4 separate regions of the Homo sapiens genome follow, and regions 1, 2 and 4 are each linked to region 3. Evidence: promoter capture Hi-C in human tissues and cell types (Jung and others, 2019). All regions are on one chromosome and are shown on one strand. Each heading gives the region's core, a stretch centred on a gene start or on the middle of the fragment in contact. The rest is flanking DNA. Distances are from core to core; before and after follow the strand shown. Region 1 holds the start of PLEKHG7 (pleckstrin homology and RhoGEF domain containing G7). Region 2 overlaps TMCC3 (transmembrane and coiled-coil domain family 3). Region 3 holds the start of CRADD (CARD and death domain containing adaptor protein). Region 4 overlaps PLEKHG7 (pleckstrin homology and RhoGEF domain containing G7).

Region 1 (4,832 bases), core at 2,062-4,561, 970 kb before region 3:
TTTTAAATAACAGAGAGTACACACCAGATATTTGGTAAACAGAACCCACCATGACATATGCTAGGTAAACCTCTCTACCTTCAAATATAAAAGAAAAAACTTAAGCCTGGACAACATACCAAGAACGTATCTCTTTTTTTTTTTTTTTTTTTGAGATAGAGTCTCACTCGGTCGCCCAGGCTGGAGTGCAGTGGCGTGATCTCAGCTCACTGCAGGCTCCATCCCCTGGGGTTCAGGCCATTCTCCTGCCTCAGCCTCCCGAGTAGCCAGGACTACAGGCACCCGCCACCTCGCCCGGCTAATTTTTTGTATTTTTAGTAGAGACGGGGTTTCACCGTGTTAGCCAGGATGGTCTCGATCTCCTGACCTCGTGATCTGCCCGCCTCTGCCTCCCAAAGTGCTGGGATTACAGGCGTGAGCCACCATGCCCGGCCAACCCTATCTTTTAAAAAAATTCAAAATAAAAAATTAGCAGCATTCCCTGTAGTCCCAGCTACTGGGGAGGCTAAGGCAAGAGGACCACTTGAGCCCAGGAGTTTGAGATCAGCTTGATATAGCAAGACCTAATCCCAATAAAATTATATATATATAATGTTCTATTGTATTGTGTGTGTATATATATATTTCACACTTCAATAGAACATACACAATCTCACAAAGAAGTAAAAAAAAATTTAAGAGTATGGTACCCAGCAAAGAGTAAATATTCTATTGACCTCCTATTTCAACTATTAATGACTGAAATCATGCAAAAATGTCTACAGACCTTTAAAGGAAAATACCATGTTGCAAGAATTCCATGCCCTGCACATGTGATAGCAAAATAAAGTCATTTTGGGGTATGAAACAGCTCAGAATATGTACTACCTAGAAACTTTTCCTAAATAAATACCTCAGAAATATTGAAAGATATCAAGATGCATTGATATTAATCTGATAGTCACCTTTTTTTGTTTTGGTTTGTTTTTGAGAGACAGGATCTTTCTCTGTCACCCAGACTGCAGTACAGTGGCATGATCACGGCTCACTGCAACCTCAGCCCAAGCATTCCTCCCACTTCAGCCTCCCAAGTAGCTGGGACTACAGGTGCCCAACACCACACCCAACTAATTTTTGTATTTTTTGTGGAGACGGGGTTTCAGCATGTTGCCCAGGCTGGTCCCAAACTCCTGGGCTCAATCAGTCTGCCCACCTTGGCCTTCCAAAGTGCTGGGATTACAGGCATCAGCCACTGTGCCCAGCTATATTAATCATTGTAAATATGGTACAACTGAATTTTTGTAGCCCTAAAACCTAAAAGGAAGCTCAAATAAATCTCATACCTCTTTTCAACAACTAGAAAGAAAATATCTTTTAGGAATTTGCCAATTCAAAGCCATAAAGTAAGCAAACCAGGATGTCATCTTTTAGCATAGACATACTTTTTAAGGTATACTTTTTATTGAAGCAAAGCATACATAAACGTAAAACTACACACAGGCAAAAAATGCTGAGGCGAGCTGCTCCCTCTGCGATATTGGAGAGCACCTCCATGTGTCATCTGAGAAAGGGCCACAGTGAGGTTGCCCCAGGTTCTTAAAGGAAAAGCTGACTCTGGGGTGTCCCTTCCCCACCCAAAATGCCTCCCTGTTGCCATCTCCTTGACAAATCAGATGGAGGTGGCACATTTTTTTCCGTGATAATCTTTTGTGACCTTTCTATAAGACTCTTAATTTCCTTCTTGAAGTTACAACCAGAGGTTGGAAGTTTTTGCATTGGGATCAAGTATTCCATTATCATTATCCCCTAGGAGAGACAGCTTTACAATCCCATGTGCGTGAGGGGATTGGTAGAAAAGAGTATGACCTTCCTTCCACAAACTAAAAGCTAAAAGACTTTATTCATTTTTTTCCTTCCCAAATTGAAGCAATTCACTTCTAGACATCCTTGGCAGGAGCTCAGAACTGTTTATGCAGGCTCCATGCAGGCAAAATATTTTTTGATATCCTGCTTTTGGTTGAGTCATGGTAATGTTGGCAATGGTGGTGAGGGCAGGAGATCAAGTCATTTTTCAAAGTTCTAAGTAAATGATGTTCTAGTAAGATCAATATGAGAGAATTAAAGACTAATATAAAGTTTATCACAAGGCCAACATCTATAAGTTAGACCTTTTTTTCTTTTCCTCTAAGGGCAGTGGTTCTCAAATTTTAACCCATGTAAGAATCACCTGGAAGTCTTGTTAAACACAGACTTCTGGCTGGGCACAGTGGCTCACACCTGTAATCCCAGCACTTTGGGAGGCCGAAGTGGGTGGACCACCTGAGGTCAGGAGTTCGGACAGCCTGGCCAATATGGTGAAACCCCGTCTGTACTAAAAATACAAAAGTTAGCCGGGCCCTGGTGGTGTGCACCTGTAATCTCAGCTACACAGGAAGCTGAGGTAGGAGAATCGCTTGAACCCAGGAGGTGGAGGTTGCAGTGAGCTGAGATCGTGCCACTGCACTCCAGCCTGAGTGACAGAGTGAGACCCTGTCTCAAAAAAAAACCACGGACTTCTGACCCCATCCCAGAGTTCCAGGGGTTGGAGAGCATGGAGGGGGAAGATTTTTCCTTTCTAACAAGTTCTCAAGTCATAGTGATACTGCTGGTCCAGGGACCCTACTTTAAGAACTACCGACCTCAGGGAACCTTCACAGTAAGTATCTGTAATGAGTCCAATCAATGAAAACTTCAGTGAATTAGACTTCATTAGAATTACTTCAACTTTGTTTTGGGAAAGTCTATAGACATTTTTGTTTAATGCTGCATACATATGCATTATCTCCACCTAGGCATCAAATAAATATTCTTTGGGGTACTGATCTAATGAGAATACTGGTAGATATAAATGCTCTTCCATTTGCATTTTAATTATTTGAAAACTAATGTTCACAAATTCACTCCCTGGTGCTCTAATCATTTCCTCTACTATTCAATGCTTATCAAAGCAAGTCATTAATAAAATAGATCAACACAAAATGTTTTATGATGTGAAGAAAGTAGAGTCCCAAAGAATGCATCTCACAACCTTAGAGAAAATAAATGAAATAGAAACCTAGAACTGCTTCACTGAACTATGAGTGATGATTTGTTGAATGCCTCAAGAGGAAGTAAAAAGTTACATTTGCATCATTTCTGTATTTGATCAGCCGTTGTTTACCTGACTTGTTCTTAGGCTGCCTTAGATTCTGAGCTGGCTTCCCTTTAGGCTTTTTCATAAACAAATAACTGGAAATGTCTCTAAGGAGGGGAGAGACCAGTTCCTCATTGCAGCTGGTAGCAAGGTTGCTTTCACTCAGCCAGGAGGACGCATTGTTACAGGTGTGGAACTTGTTGCTCCGAGCCCTCGCCTGGCAGCTCACTCTGGATCTGCGGGTTCTGAGGAGCCTCGGGACCCACCTGGGTGCAGTTGCCTTCAGGGACAGACCATCTTACAGGTATTAAAGGCAACATTCAGCTGCTTTCTGGGTTTCTCTCTTGCACTTTCCTTTTGTCCTATTGCTATCAGTTTCGCTTGTTTTGCTGATCTCTCCAGGTCTCATTAGAATTAGTGAATCATTAACCTGCAATGGTTTCATTTCTAGTACAGTGAGATGGCTTCCCCAACAGTGTGGGTGGGTGTTTGCTGGATTCTCAAAGCTTGGAAGGTCAAAGGTTGGTGAATTTTCTTTATGGTGACCATGTATTAATTTCCTCTTTTAAACATAAAGAAGAGTTAGCATGAATGGATTGACTTGTTAACTTTTGATTCTACCAGATCCACTGGGTGTAGTCATTTAGGGAAAGCTTCCCAGGAGCCTTAGCCATTATCTCATTTAATTTCTGCAACAGGCCTGTGAGGGAGGTTCTTTGATGTCCTCTTGGTAAATGCTGCATGGCAGTTGGCAGAGGAGAAGTGGCTTGTCCTAGGTCACACAGCCAATTGGCGGTGATACTGGAAGAGAAACCAGACCCATTTCTTCTGGTGCTTGAGCTCTTCCTGCCTTTCTGCAAACCACCTCCCTAAGCCCTGCTGTTTTTAAAGTTTCTCCATTTCCGCAGTGCATCATGTCGGCAGTTACTATTGCCTTGGTTCCAATATTTAAGACAGTGGCTAATAAATAATTCTTACCGATGTGAATCCTATTGGCCATAAATAACTTCCTACCAGCAGCTACACCCCTGTGTCTGAACGACTACAAAGGAAACCCAAAGCCGTATCCTAACCCCTCAAAAGAGGAGAGGAAAAGGCCAGAAGGACAGAGGGGAAACCCAAAGACTAAGAAATCTGATCTAACTATTATGCAAGTGCCTATGCAAATATACTGAATTCCTTTAACATTGTTGCTGCCTAGAACTTGGACAGTCTTCTAAAGGAGAAAAATAATAGAACGGCCCTGATTGTATGTATGTGTGAAAGTACCTATTGATTCAAAATTAGCTGGGTGGGGTGGTAAGCATCCATAGCCCCAACTACTCAGGAGCACTGCAGCATGAGGATTCTGTGAGGCTAGGAGTTTGAGGTTACAGTGCGATATGATCACACCTCTGCACTCAGCCTGGGCGACAGAGCCAGACTCCATCTCTAAAAAGAAAAAAAAAAAGAAAGAAAGTACCTATAGATTTGATGCTCAGCTCAGCATTTGTTTGTTGGGAGAATGAGGAACTGGCCTCTCCATGTAGCAACAATGTACCTTATTTTATCAATGGTAGGGAGGGACCATTTCATACCTCTCCAGCAATGTTGGTATCAACCTTCAGAGCAGCCTCCAGGAATTACCAATCTAAAACCAAAACTAGTACAATCTCACCTTAACTGAACATAAGTTTCCTAA
Region 2 (4,634 bases), core at 673-3,172, 960 kb after region 3:
TATTCAGATTTGGTATTCTTTGTTTTTCAATAGTACATATATATTATTCTTTTTGTTTTTTATTTTTTTTTTTTTTGAGACAGAGTCTCGCTCTGTTGCCCAGGCTGGAGTACAATGGTGTGACCTCAGCTCACTGCAACCTCCGCCTCCCGGGTTCAAACGATTTTCCCTAACTCAGCATCTCAAGTAGCTGAGATTACAGGTGCCCGCCATCACCAGCTAATGTTTTGTATTTTTAGTAGAGATGAGGTTTCACCGTGTTGGCCAGGCTGGTCTCGAACTCCTGACCTCAGGCAATCCGCCCGGCTGGGCCTCCCAAAGTGCTGGGATTACAGGCATGAACCACCGTGCCTGGCCCAGTATATGTATTATTCTTATTTATCTATCTGTTACCATTCTAATTACCCCAAACATGCAAAAAATTATTTAAGAAATGAGGGTTGGGAAGGATCAACATTTAATTTAAAGAAAGCCACAAGAATGCAAGACTATTTCATCCATTTCCTATTTGGCCAAAAAAACAAAAGTTTAAAAAAAAAAAGTCTGTTGGAATGGTAGGCTCACTTTGCAAAACTGTCCTTAAACAGCAACAAGTCTCAAGACCTCTCATTTTAAGTCTTTCTTTAAAAATAAGAGCTTCATTTGAGCCCTGAGTACTTCAAAAACTTTCTTGGTATTAGATCATTTTAAACAGCCAGAGTGCGAGTCAAACTTCTCAATAGTTGAATTTAATGTGCTCCCACCTACCCAAACAATAAAAGCATTTCTAGGTGGTAGAAACAGATGCTGATTTTGCATAAGTAAGTGTCCCTACTGCTCCCCAGGTAGGGCATAAATGAGCCACCTGAATGAAAGAGACTCACTTTAATTTTGGTGCCCACATGCCTAACAGACACCAATTCTGTGAATGCCTCTAAATTGCCCAGCACATGAGGTAAGCTTTGGCTGGCTTTATGCAACACATAGTACTTGATAATTTGCTTAAGTCAGGAGGCTTCTACAAGCATGGTGCCTTTCCCAAATGAAAGCACATGTAAATAGCATATTCATTCCACTCTTAATATGCTCTTGAATCAGGTTATAAAATGTTAAGTGTTAGTTTCTGGGCACAGCCCAGTTTTAACCTCCTTCTGTGTCAGATGCAGAGATACAAGGCAGGTGGACCGTTCAATAATTAACACAAGCGCATCTAGTGATATTTAGGAAGGCACAGGAGTAACATACAAGTAAGAATTAAGCCAAATAAGGAAACAGATCGTTACCTACAAATCAGAAATCTTGTTATATTCGCCATCCTAACATAAGTGACAAACCAACTTAAATTTCCCAGTACAGATCCCAGCACAAGGATATTAAATATGTTTATTAAATAGGAGGAATGTGCAGGCTTGAAAGCAGTCTGGGGCTAACAAAGCAGAAGCAGTAGTCCTGTGACCTGCAGAACACAAAGTTAGGCTGGGTTCCTGCTCTTCCATCTCCCGAGCTGCGAGCTGCGATGGTGTGTCACAAATTACTTAAGGTGGCAACAGTGGTTTGGGAAGCAACAATACACATTCTATGTACCATAACAGTGTTTGCAAACTGTAGAAGGGCAGGATTTTATAACATTAAGTCGAATTTGATGAGAGGTAACACTTAGTTCAAAAGAGAATTAAAAGCAAAATTTTAAAACACACACGCACAAAACTTTGCTATCTTTTCCTCTCAGCCTTTTGGTCTTTCCTTACTGTAAATAATACTGGAGTTATGCCTGTTTTTGTGTGTGTATGTGGGTTTTTTTTTTTTTTTTTTTTTTTGAGACGGAGTCTGGCTCTGTTGCCCAGGCTGGATGGAGTGCAGTGGCACGATCTTGGCTCACTGCAACCTCCGCCTCCCAGGTTCGAGCAATTCTGTCTCAGCCTTCCGAGTAGCTGGGATTACAGGTGCCCGCCACCATGCCCAGCTAATTTTTTTGTATTTTTAGTAGAGACAGGGTTTCACCATGTTGGTCAGGCTGGTCTGGAACTCCTGACCTCAAGTGATCCACCTGCCTCGGCCTCCCAAAGTGCTGGGATTACATGCATAAGCCACTGAGCCTGGCCTCAAAATGTTCATTTCAAATCCCTGAGGGGAGAGGTTGGGAAGGGAAGAGGAAGAGGACTATCAATCCAGAATAAGTGTGGCAGAATTACAACCTTCTGTGTTCGACAGATTTAAAACTCATGGAAAAAGTAGACATTTATAAAAACAAAACTTGATACATATGAACAGCGGTATATTTTTAAAGACAGGTAACAATGCAAAAAATTGCCCTGGGATAACTGTATAGACATCTGAAAAGGAATTGAATAATTCTAACTCATTCAAAGATTCAAATATACAAAAATAAAAATCATAAAATATATTAGGAGAACATGGGCATGTGGGCTTTTAAAAAATCTCAAAGTACAAAGGCCATTCTAAGAATGATACAAACCTATAAACCAGAAAATGTGTAGATTTCTTCATGGCAAAATATGGTTAGTATTTATTCAGCGCTTGCTATCCACTAGCTCTATGCTCAGCACACACCAAACATATAATTCAGGGCAACAGGCAGAATTCTAAGATGATTCCCACGATGGTACCCTCCCACAAGCAAGACTTTTGAACATGATGGAATTTCACTCCTATGGCTACATTATGTTATATGGAAAAATAAAGGAATTTTGCAGACATAATTAAGGCCCCTAATCAGTTGATTTTAATTAATCAAAAGGGAGAGTGCCTAGGTGGGCCTAAACTAATCAGGTGAACTCCTTAAAAGAGGATCTAGAAGTAAAAGACAAAATGCAACAAAGATGCTGTTCATTGGCCCTGAAGAAACAAACTGTCGTGCTATGGAACATGCCCTGTGGCAGAAAACAGTGAACAGCCTCTGGCGGCTGAGGGCCTCAGGTCTACAGTTGCAAGAAACCTAATCTTGTAAATATCCAGTGAGCTTGGGAAAGGATCCCAAGCTTAAGAAGAGATTGCAGTCCTGGTTGACACCTTGATTTCAGGCTGATGACACACTTGGCAGATGATGCAGTTAAGCTGCAGCTGGACTCCAGGCCTATGGAAACTCTGAGATAATTAAATGGGTGTTGTTTTTTGAAGTTGCTCAGTTTATGGTACTTTGTTACACAACAGTTAAAAAAAAAATAGAGTCAGGAATGACAAGCTGGGAAAAATGTACTTGCAAAGCAATTAATTTAATTAGTAGAAAACCAATACAAATCTATGTAAAAGACCAACAGCCAATAGATAAATGGCAAGAACATACATATAAACAGCTCATAAACACAGACAAATGTCTTTTTAGTCTATGAAAATATGATCTATTGTACTATAGTTACATAAAATGCAATCATTGGGAGAAGCTGGGTGAGGGGTACATGGGACATCTCTGTACTATTTTGTGCAAATTTCTGTAGAGCTGTAATTATTTCAAAATAAAAATTTTAAAAATATGACCAACCTCATCCATACCAGGAAAGATATACATTGAAATGGGCTAGGAGTTTTCACCTATCAGATTGGCAAGGATCAAAACAGTTGAAAACATGCTGTGTCCGAAGCGATGTGGGTAAAGGCATGTTCACACATTAATGATAGTTACACAAAGTTTACCAGTGTTGTTCAGTGCTGCATCCTTAGCTCCCAGTGTTCAACACAGAGTAGGTGCAGTGTTCAGCGTGGTAATATCATAATTTAAAATGCACATGCCCTTTGGCTGAGTAATTAGATGCTTGTGAATTTAGCCTGCTAACATATTCCTCACATGTGCAAAAATAAGTAATGACCAAAGACTGGAAGCAATATACCTGTCCTTTAATAAGAAAATGGTTAAATAAATGATGGTATAGCCATACATGGGGATCCTGTGCAGCAATTAAAACAAGGCAAATTAATCTGAATTGATATGGATCAAGAGTAGAATAAGCTTTCCAGCTTCTCAAGTCCCACAGTACAATTTCACAACATACACACATTCACTCATTCAGTCAATATTTACAAAGCTCCAACTATGTCCAATGCTCCATGCCTAGAAAAAAGAACACAACTATCTCCATGAGAGAGGATGGGGCAGGTACCCACAGGCACAGAGGGAGGCATGGGAGTCCACAAAGAAAGGAGACCGGAGTTCAAGGACCAAGAGTGGGTGAAAAGCAAAGGTCAGATGAGAGACTCTGGGTGTCTAAGAAGCTGGGCTTCTGTCCTATTGAAGAATTTGAAGCAAAACATTGACAAGACACTACGCAAAATATACACTCAATGTAAAAATAAAAGAGTGATCTAGCTGGAGAAGGTCATAATCTGGGGACCATCTCTGATGTCACTAGAGGTGTCTTAAGGTATCTCAACTTGAGCACTTAAGCTGAGTCACGTGGGACATGCTCTTTCCCCCATGCCTGAATATGTGCTCATATTAAAAACATGAGGACAGCATGAGGTCCTCTTGCACCATGCCATCTTATGGGGTGGATTCAAAGGAGACATTTGCCACCTCTTCCTCCTCTGGAGAAATATCTATAAGCACCCCTCTCAAGCATCTTCACATGCATCCCTCGACCATATCCTTTCACCCATTCTGCATTCAACATGTAGGATGGAATGGAAGCAGCACACTCTTC
Region 3 (4,382 bases), core at 1,160-3,659:
CCACTTGTGGCGTCATGTTGACACCCAAAAAGCTTCAGGTTTTGGAGCATTTCTTTTTCTTTCTTTTTTTTTTTTTTTCTGAGACAGGGTCTCTCTCTGTCGCCCAGGCCGGAGTGCAGTGGCATGATCTTGTTTCACTGCAAACTCCACCTCCCGGGTTCAATTGATTCTCCACCTCAGCCTCCTGAGAAGCTGGGACTACAGGCGTACACAAGCATGGCTGGCTAATTTTTTGTATTTTTTGTAGAGATGGGATTTCCCTATGTTGCCCAGGCTGGCCCTGAACTCCTGGGCTCAAACGATCTGCCTGCCTTGGCTTCCCAAAATGCTGAGATTACAGGTGTCAGCCACCACTCTCAGGCAGGTTTTGGAGGATTCTGGATTTCAAATTTTTGTATTAGGGATGTTTAACCTGTAAACTTCAACGCTTGGCAGTGTTGCAAGTGGTCTGCACTTTATCTGGATGAAGACAAAGAATGGTGCTAACATTTGTCTATGAACAGATGGGAAATCTTGCTGAGGAAAGGACAATGATTCTCAAGCAAAAGGGGAAAAGGGAGAGAGAAAAGAGAGCACCTGGAACTCAAGAGTATCAAGAATGGGAGGTGGCAACAGGATGATTTGCAAATAATATTTGGCTATCATTAGAACAATAAACTCTTCACTATACAAGGTTGTATGGTGTATTGGAAAGAGCATGAAATCAGAGAAACTTCATTAGACTTCAAGTTTTGCTCTATATTAGCTGTGAGATTTTGCCTAAGACAATTGACCATTCTGATTCCACAGTCTTTATACATGCAAATGCTAAAACAGTTGTAACAGTGGAGATACATTGTGAAAAATGTGTCATTGTGCAAACAAAATAGGATGTACTTATGCAAACCTAGATGGTATAGCCTACTACATACTTAGGCCATATAGCATAGCCTATTGCTCTGACCACCATCATATATGCAGTCTGTCATTGACCCAAATATTGTTATGCAATGCATGACTGTAATAATAATAATACTTGCCACATAGGTAAAAATACTGTCATTAACGGTGTAGTAAAATGGTAACTGGCATAGTAATGCTGTAAATTGAATACAATTTTTAGAAGGTTTTGAGGAGGGAGGTTCAGAACTGTTCTCCATTGATTTGCTTAACAAAGATATTTTCATTTTCCACCAAAGGGTTTGGCTGTGAAAACCTTTGCAGAAATAATATTTTAGGAGTTTTTTCCCCCTGTACTGTCAACTGATTTTTAGTAAGCATATGACTTTCTGTATGTATCATCCAATTGATTTAAAAATGAATCAATGAATGTATTTATTGATCGCCTGCCTCGCTTCACAAAGGAATGTGAGGAAGGACACCCAATTTGGCATTGCTGTGTTTCTCTGTATTTGGGTCATGCATTTTTTCTTGCTTTCCACATTGAAAATGTGGTGGATGCAGTAGATTGGCTTTAAGTGTCAGGCCTTCCCTCATTTACTATACCTTTTTGTGTTTCACAAGCTGGAAAGCTACCAACTACATGCTCTAGACATCCTTGCTGCTAATATTCTGCATGTCAGATTGGTCTCACCAATGGCACGCAGCAAAGCAAGATTTGCAGGTGCTGTTTTCTTGCTGCTGGCAAATGCAGCCGTGGAGACCACCGTTTTTTGCAGCACTGTTCCAGTGTCCTGTTAATTGTTCTGTCGGTGTTGAGAGGAGGTTGGGGACCAGGCATGGCAACTTCCTGACGCCATCTTCCTGATTGTGGGCAGCAGCCACAATCAGCAATCTTATCTAGGTAGTCATCCATGGATGTTCAGCTCAGCCCTTCTCCAGCCTTTCCAATGATTTCGAATGTCCCCAATTCCCCCTAACGAATCCCTTTCTGACTAGGAGTAACTAGCTGAGTGCTGCAATGAAATCCTGACTGACAGATTTGTAAACTCTTTGCGGGCAGGAACCCTTGATATAAATAAATGACCTTGCATTTTAATGGAGGGAAGCAGAAGGATAAACAAATGAATAAGTGAAAAGTTTTAATAAGATGGTGATGCGTAAAAAATAAAGCTGGTTAATGGGGAGTGCAGGAAATGAGCGCAGCTGTCTTGCCGTTTTAATCAGATAGGTCAGAGAAGGCTTCTCTACTAGGGTGGCTTTTGACCTGCCTCTCTGTTAGGTCAATTGTGTGCGAGGCCCTGATGGAGTTACTGTGTTAAAATGCAATGATTCAATTACTCCATTACTTAGATACCCTTTAAGTGACACTACGGTTGTCCATCTCCCCGCTATTGAATTGTTTACCCACAGTAAGCATGGCGGGAAGAGCTTCGATCCGACCCTTGAACGCTCAATAAAAATGGCGACAGCACTTCCTGTACTTGCCCTCAACAAAGATGGTGTCAACACTTCCTGTTTAGGGTTTTCGCCATTAACAAAGATGGTGCTTATGGGGCAGGTTCCCTAACAGTCAGGATTCCGGTTGCAGTTTTTCTCCCCCGCCCCAAAGATACGTGGTTGCAGACGTAAGTAACAGGAATCCATCTTTCTTTGAAAGTCCTGCATTGTAGCGTCTGCGACCTGGGCCCTGCGGGGGCTTCCCCGCCCCGCTAACTTGCTCCGCATTTCCGATCCGGGCCAAGGCTGGGTGGCTGCGGCAGTGCCGGAGGCCCGCTCTCCCCTTGGTCCGCTCTTTAGTTCATTCCCAGCACTCCCTCTTTAGCGGGTCAAGTTGCCGCAGAAACCGCCCGTAGTCTTCCTGTTTGATACAAGGGTTTCAGCGGCCGAAGCAGAGCCTTTTTAAATAGTTCCCAATGGGCGCTCACGGCCAAACGTGAACACCTCCCCTCCTCACCTGTCACCTCCTGAACTTTACAGGGTTGCGAGGGGGAGTGTGGGATCGGGTGTCGCCTAGCCGTGGTCGTACTGCCCGGGTGTGTCTGAAGCCCCATCTGTCATCCCTGCCTGCCTTCCCGGTCACTTAACCTTCACTGCCTTACACACAACCAAGCCACAGCACACTGGTGCAGGGGTGGTGGAACTGCACCTTCAAATCGTGCCTGGCTACTGACCAGTGCTGGGGTGTGTGCTTTTTTTGAAAGAAAAAAATCCCATAAAATGTCCCATGCATGTGCGGCCACGACAGTGTTGTGCTGGAGATTCGGAATTCTTAGTGGGAAGGAATGGAGTCTGTGACTGTATATTGTGTAAAGTTTATTGTAGACTGGGCACAAACAACAATTTTCTTAAAGGTGATCGTGTAGAGGACTTTTAGCGAAAAGAGCCTTAAATTCTGAACCTGCTGATTTCTGTCCTGCACTCCTATTACTGATCAGGTTTTGCAAATACTTGTGATCAAAAAAAGGGGACCTGCGTCCACCTTGGCAGTTTCTGCCTTGGTGGTGGTGGTGCAGGTCTGATGAGGGCAATGTGAAAATAAAACCACCATTTCTTCTCCAGCGTGTTAAAATTAGTGCTGCTCTGTAATCTTCAGATAAAAATTGCTTGTTCAGAAGGGTCTCTGACCCACTTTTTTTTTTTCTTTTTCCAAATTTCTTTATTGAACGAGGAATTGAGCTGGGACCCCATTGTGTGAAAAGCAGAAACAGAAAAGATGATTCATCTTCATTGTTGTTCATTATGTTAGGAAACATTCAAAATTAACCTGGCTTGGCTTAATCAGTGAATTAAATACCATGACCTGGCAGTCTGCTATGGTTTAAAGATGTGCTTGACCTGAAGGAACTTACATTGCAGTGACACTGTCTTTAGGGCCACATCAACATGTCTGTAATTTGAGCTGTGATTTTGGCTCTTTCCAGGGAGAAATGGAGGCCAGAGACAAACAAGTACTCCGCTCACTTCGCCTGGAGCTGGGTGCAGAGGTATTGGTGGAGGGACTGGTTCTTCAGTACCTCTACCAGGAAGGAATCTTGACGGAAAACCATATTCAAGAAATCAATGCTCAAACCACAGGCCTCCGGAAAACAATGCTCCTGCTGGATATCCTACCTTCCAGGGGCCCTAAAGCATTTGATACATTCCTAGATTCCCTACAGGAGTTTCCCTGGGTCAGGGAGAAGCTGAAGAAGGCAAGGGAAGAGGCCATGACCGACCTGCCTGCAGGTAGGCCTCAGAAAGATCACTTTGAACCAGCTCCAAAATGTTGTAACTATGCTCTTTGCTTTTTTGTTTATTTGTTTGTTTGTTTTTGAGACAGAGTCTTGCTCTGTTGCCCAGGCTGGAGTGCAATGGTGTGATCTCGGCTCACTGCAACCTCTGCTTCCTGGGTTCAAGCAATTCACTTGCTTCAGCCTCCCGAGTTGCTGGGAATACAGGCATTTGCCACCATGCCCTGCTAAGTTTTGTATTTTTAGTAGAGATGGGGTTTCATCATGTTG
Region 4 (4,728 bases), core at 852-3,351, 910 kb before region 3:
TCCTCACGCTTGCAGAGTTCTCCTGCAGAAGCTCAAGAACTGCCTGCGTTCTACAGTTTCTGTAGGAAATGGGGGAAGAATTGATTTGGATTGCATGATGAACCTTTAAGATGCTCCAATCAGTTTCCAAAGTGCATATAATAGGATATTAGCTTAAGGAGGGCCTGGCGCAATAATGATCCCTGTCAAGTCAGCTTGTCAACCTTTGAAAAACTGCCATTGTTTTTACAGCTATGGAGTTGAAAGAGCAGCTGCCTGACTCTGGTTTCTCTGTCTTAGAAGTTTCTATTTTTGTATTTCCCCTGGTAGGCTTTCATCATATCTACAATGTGGCCAGACAACAAATGCAATATTCAATTTCCTGGGTCACTGCCCTCAGTCTCTTTCAAGTTATACTACAGGTTAAGAACTTGTTTCCACAGAGAATAGAAATTCCAGCAATGCCACTTTCAAACTACATATATTCTCAGTGCTCATTTTTCTAATGAGTTATCATTGACTATTGTTTCTTGATTACTCATAACTGTTATCCAACATGCATACCATACTCATTTAGCCCATCTGCATTTTCCTGTAAGATTAGAAGTATTTATATTAGATGTAAGAAAGAAAATGGGAAACATATGCAAATGTTTCATTAGTCTTCAGTTTTAAAGAGCTGGTCAATAAATATAGCAGAAAATATTAGCCCAAATATGTGAGAAATTGTCAGCTTAACATTCTAATCTCTATTTATGTATTTTTTTCTTTTTTTCAACAGAAAACATGGATGGCACAAATAACAACTGCAATTTCTTGCTTTACCAAGAGTCAGGAAACCAAGAAAATATCTTTATTCACATTGCCCGCAGAATCCTCTGAAATTTAGGGACCTAAAACAAGTGGCATGTCTTTTTAGAAGATTATGGTTTAAGGTATAATTTCATTCAAAGTTTTGTAACACTTAGCTAGTGATAAGCTAGAAGGAAATTTGCATTTTAAAGAAGTTTCAGAATTTGAAATTTTGAGCTAGGAAAATCCTCAGTATAGAGGAATAATGACTGCAACAAATTTGAACTCTGAGGAATTTCTTGACAAATATATACTGACATCCAGATTACCTTCTAATGCTTCCGTCAGGTTTGTAAGAGGTGTGAGTGAAGAAAGGTGCTAATTTGTAAAGGGTGAATGATCAGATAAATGGAGTATCAGAAGGAAAACAATGTCCACTGCTTATGTCCAATATGAACTCCAGCATCTTACTCTGTATCCATAAAATAATGAAACCAATTTTCCTTCATGGCCTGTCAATCAGTCTTAACCGCTTTATAGTCCTACCTCAAACATAATGATAAATCTTTAGATACAAAGCTTGATTGTTCTTTTAATATACAAAGCAATAAATAGGGACTACATTTAAGTAGCAGTTTTAAAATTCCTATTCTCAAACTCATCTCAGGTATATAGTACTCTAACGTGGAAGTAGAAAATCCCAAAGACTAAATTCCATTACTTTAAGATAGGAAGAAAAAAAAAATCTGGCTTTCACCAGTTAACACTTTTGCATGGCTTTTCTTGGCCTGTTGTGAAGTGTACAGATTTTCATAGACATAGTAAGGTATCTGTCTCTTAACTTTATTTTTTGAAGAATGATGGTGTTTGCCATAAAAATACTTTCTGGTTTTGATTGGTGTGTGTGTGTGTGTGTGTGTGTGTTAGCACAGTACAGTCACTTAATTTTATTTGGCAGGACTTCAAATTTCTTCAGAATTTTTATCATGAAAGGCAGTTTGAATAATTATTATCATGGCAGGATATATACTATTAACTACATTCAAGGAACTAGTTCTTAGGGTCAGATTATTGCATCAAAGGGAAGTCCACAAACTTCCATTTCAGAATCGTACCTTTTGCAATTTGCAAAGTGAAAGTAGTAAATTTATCAAATTTGGCTGCAAGACAACTGAAGCCTTAGCTGATTTTGTTAAGCTGAAGAATGGGGTAGAGAGGATAATGTTTGGGCAAGTCATGTGCCCAGTAATTCCTTGAGGAAGGTGAAATTTCACTATGCAAACAAAGCAGTAAAGACAAGTGCAGCAGAAAGGCTTTTGTACAAGGCAAGCACTATTAGAATGGAGACTAATAACCTCTTTATAATAATGTCAGAAATTTAATAGAAGAAAAAAAGGAAAATCTGGAGGACAGTAACTATTGTTAATAGCTAAGAATAAATGAGGTGGAGGGGAGAAAAAGGGGAGAATAGACTTCAAGCTTCAAGTGAATTCCTAGAGATGGCATCTGGATGGGACTGAAAGCAGTTATGTCCAGGAGAATACAATATAGATTATGCAAGAGAAGATTTTATAAAGAAATTTCTGGTTAAAAAAAATTTTTACATTAACAATCATCTTGCAAATGTTTAGATATAAACTAACCTCGGAGGTGAGCAGTGGACTAGGATGAGGTGGCCTCTCAAATTCCTTTAGTCCCATGAATCCAGCAACCACAGACTTACATGTATAAAGGTAGTTTTCTCCCTCTGAATCTCATTAAAGGGAGAGACAGACTGACTAAATTAACAAAATATATAAAACAGCTCAAGAATATGCTGTACATAAACTGGAATTCTATAAAGCTCACAAAGTAACATGTCTAATATACAATATATTAGATGTTTGAGGATATGCACATTAAACTCTTTGGAGGGTTTAGAATGAAGCACATTCGAATGAAGGGATCACGGGGGTCAGAACAAAAACCATTCTAGAACCGTGGCTCCCAGGAAGAAAAAATAGCAAAAAACAATGGCACATTGGGCCTTCCAAAAAGTATCTTTGGGGAGGGGAGGGAGAAAAATAAATAAATAAATAAATAAATAATGTTTTAAGTATCTTTAAATGGTCATCTGGGTATTAAATGCAGACACACAATGAAATAAGGGGTTAATTACATATTTTTTATATTTGTTTTTAGTTTTGTTAATTCTCTACAATATTAAATGGAATGTCTAAGGCAAAATGGCATTAATAATTTCTCTTGAGATCAGGAATTTAATTACTATTCGAAATTGAACAACATTAAAACACCACTGTCTATATCCAAGTGCAAAGTCCTAATATTCTGTAAATAAATTAATGCAAAATGGTTAATACAGTGTTCTCTCTTTTGTTAGACAAAACAATTTATAGTCACAGAATACAACTAGTTTAGAAAGAAATGTTTTTAATATAATATTTAAACATATTAAAAAAAAGCAACAATTCAATAAGGATCCTTCCATTGTTCTTTATACAGATTTAAATGCTGTCACGTACTTTATCAGTTACATTTATAATTAATAACCTTCCAATCACTGAGTTTAGAAATTGCAGTATTTACTGAGCTAACCTTTCTCACAAAGTAAGGCACAACTACATGATCACAAGTAGTAAACACAATACAAATAATGAACCCAAAAACTAAATGAGAAAATGTTCATGCATAAGTATCTACAGAACTTATGAATATATGATCCAGTTCAAGGAATTACAGAATGTCATATACACAACTGCATTGTGTTACAATAAATTTATTACTTCTACACAGAAAGAACTTAGTGACTTCTAATTCTATTTTATACAATTTTACATAAATTTAGTAAGTTTATGCACAATATTCACATCTGCAACAATAACAAATTGATCATTAAAATTCAGGCTAAGGGCAATTAAGACACAATAATGTGTGGCACGTTATAATTACAGAATACCATTCATCAAGCTCATGTCTAGGAATACTATAATGGTGGCACATTTAAATCTTATGGATCAAATCATCCATGGTTTTATAGCCAAAGTGCATTTTTTTAAAAAAACTCCTATAGTCAAACAGGTCATGAATATCAAAATATATGATCATAATTTGCTCTCTACTTAAAAGCTAAACATTTTTATGCAAATGTAAGGTTAAAAAAAAGTGGCTTTAAAGTTCTCAAAACTATATAAAATAATCATAAAGACTTTTTTAAGAGAGATGGGAAAATAACAAATTTGGCAGTTACTATTTAACATTACTGTCAGGAAACTATTAAAGTAGATAATTCCACATTAAGAGGTAGTTGAACAAAATGTTATTTATACACTGCATTGAGGTTTTTGTGTTTGTTTCCCTCATTTTTTCTTCAAAGGAACAAATCCTATACCAGCAGCTTTGTCTTCTTTCTATTAAAAAAAAGTCTGTAGGTATAGTTTATTGTACACTAACCCAGCAAGACTTAATTTTAACTCACATTCTGTGCCGGGGTTTGGAATTTACTAACATTATGTCAATGTGCTTTTCATTAAAGCCAAGAGCTGTACATGCCAGCTTTAACTGACTGACAAAATAATAGTACCAGCAAACATGTAAAATGTACAGCCAATAAGGACTTCAAAGATGACTTTTTAATTAAAAGGAAAAAAATTTAAATTTTTATTTCGAAAACACATTAAATTGGGGAGAGTTAGTAGCAAAAAATGTTCGGTTTCATTTATATTATCAGTATAGTAGCCTATGGTAGGTAAATTACTCGGGACTTATGAAATGAAATTAGATAAAAATGAGAAAATCATTCAAACACCTATATATGGTTACTTGTTGTCTTAAAATTTTTTTGTGAGTATTTTGGGGGTAAAGGGGAGACAGACAGAAGGCCTGGAGTGGTGTTCAATTAGGAGACAAAGTAAACAAATATTCAAACCCAGATTTCTCATGGAATTTATTATCTCAAAA

The links. Contacts are between HindIII fragments. The study calls those that stand out against the background at their distance.
Region 1: a contact is called between the fragment with the promoter of PLEKHG7 here and the fragment with the promoter of CRADD in region 3, in 1 of the 25 tissues and cell types used here (adrenal gland).
Region 2: a contact is called between a fragment that was not itself captured here and the fragment with the promoter of CRADD in region 3, in 1 of the 25 tissues and cell types used here (spleen).
Region 4: a fragment that was not itself captured here is called in contact with the fragment with the promoter of CRADD in region 3 in 1 of the 25 tissues and cell types used here (spleen).

What each region holds. Positions count from the first base shown.
Region 1 is chr12:92,699,678-92,704,509 of GRCh38, forward strand. It overlaps PLEKHG7 (pleckstrin homology and RhoGEF domain containing G7), which reads left to right and starts at 3,312. Exons shown (of 17, transcript NM_001377329.1): 1 at 3,312-3,455. RefSeq lists an enhancer at 3,453-3,512. The HindIII fragment of the contact is 15,061 bases long and covers 1-4,832 here.
Region 2 is chr12:94,633,888-94,638,521 of GRCh38, forward strand. All of the region lies in intron 1 of TMCC3 (transmembrane and coiled-coil domain family 3), which reads right to left. Among named protein-coding and RNA genes, the nearest start is that of TMCC3, 14 kb to the right of the region's middle. The HindIII fragment of the contact is 3,075 bases long and covers 386-3,460 here.
Region 3 is chr12:93,674,966-93,679,347 of GRCh38, forward strand. CRADD (CARD and death domain containing adaptor protein) reads left to right here and starts at 2,410. Exons shown (of 3, transcript NM_003805.5): 1 at 2,410-2,507; 2 at 3,804-4,107. The coding sequence starts at 3,810. RefSeq lists enhancers at 1,651-2,466, 2,255-2,494, 2,467-3,281, 4,098-4,382. The HindIII fragment of the contact is 15,222 bases long and covers 1-4,382 here.
Region 4 is chr12:92,769,328-92,774,055 of GRCh38, forward strand. It overlaps PLEKHG7 (pleckstrin homology and RhoGEF domain containing G7), which reads left to right. Exons shown (of 17, transcript NM_001377329.1): 17 at 761-3,128. The coding sequence ends at 868. EEA1 (early endosome antigen 1) reads right to left here. Exons shown (of 29, transcript NM_003566.4): 29 at 1,310-4,728. Among named protein-coding and RNA genes, the nearest start is that of PLEKHG7, 69 kb to the left of the region's middle. RefSeq lists a silencer at 1-112. The HindIII fragment of the contact is 3,936 bases long and covers 134-4,069 here.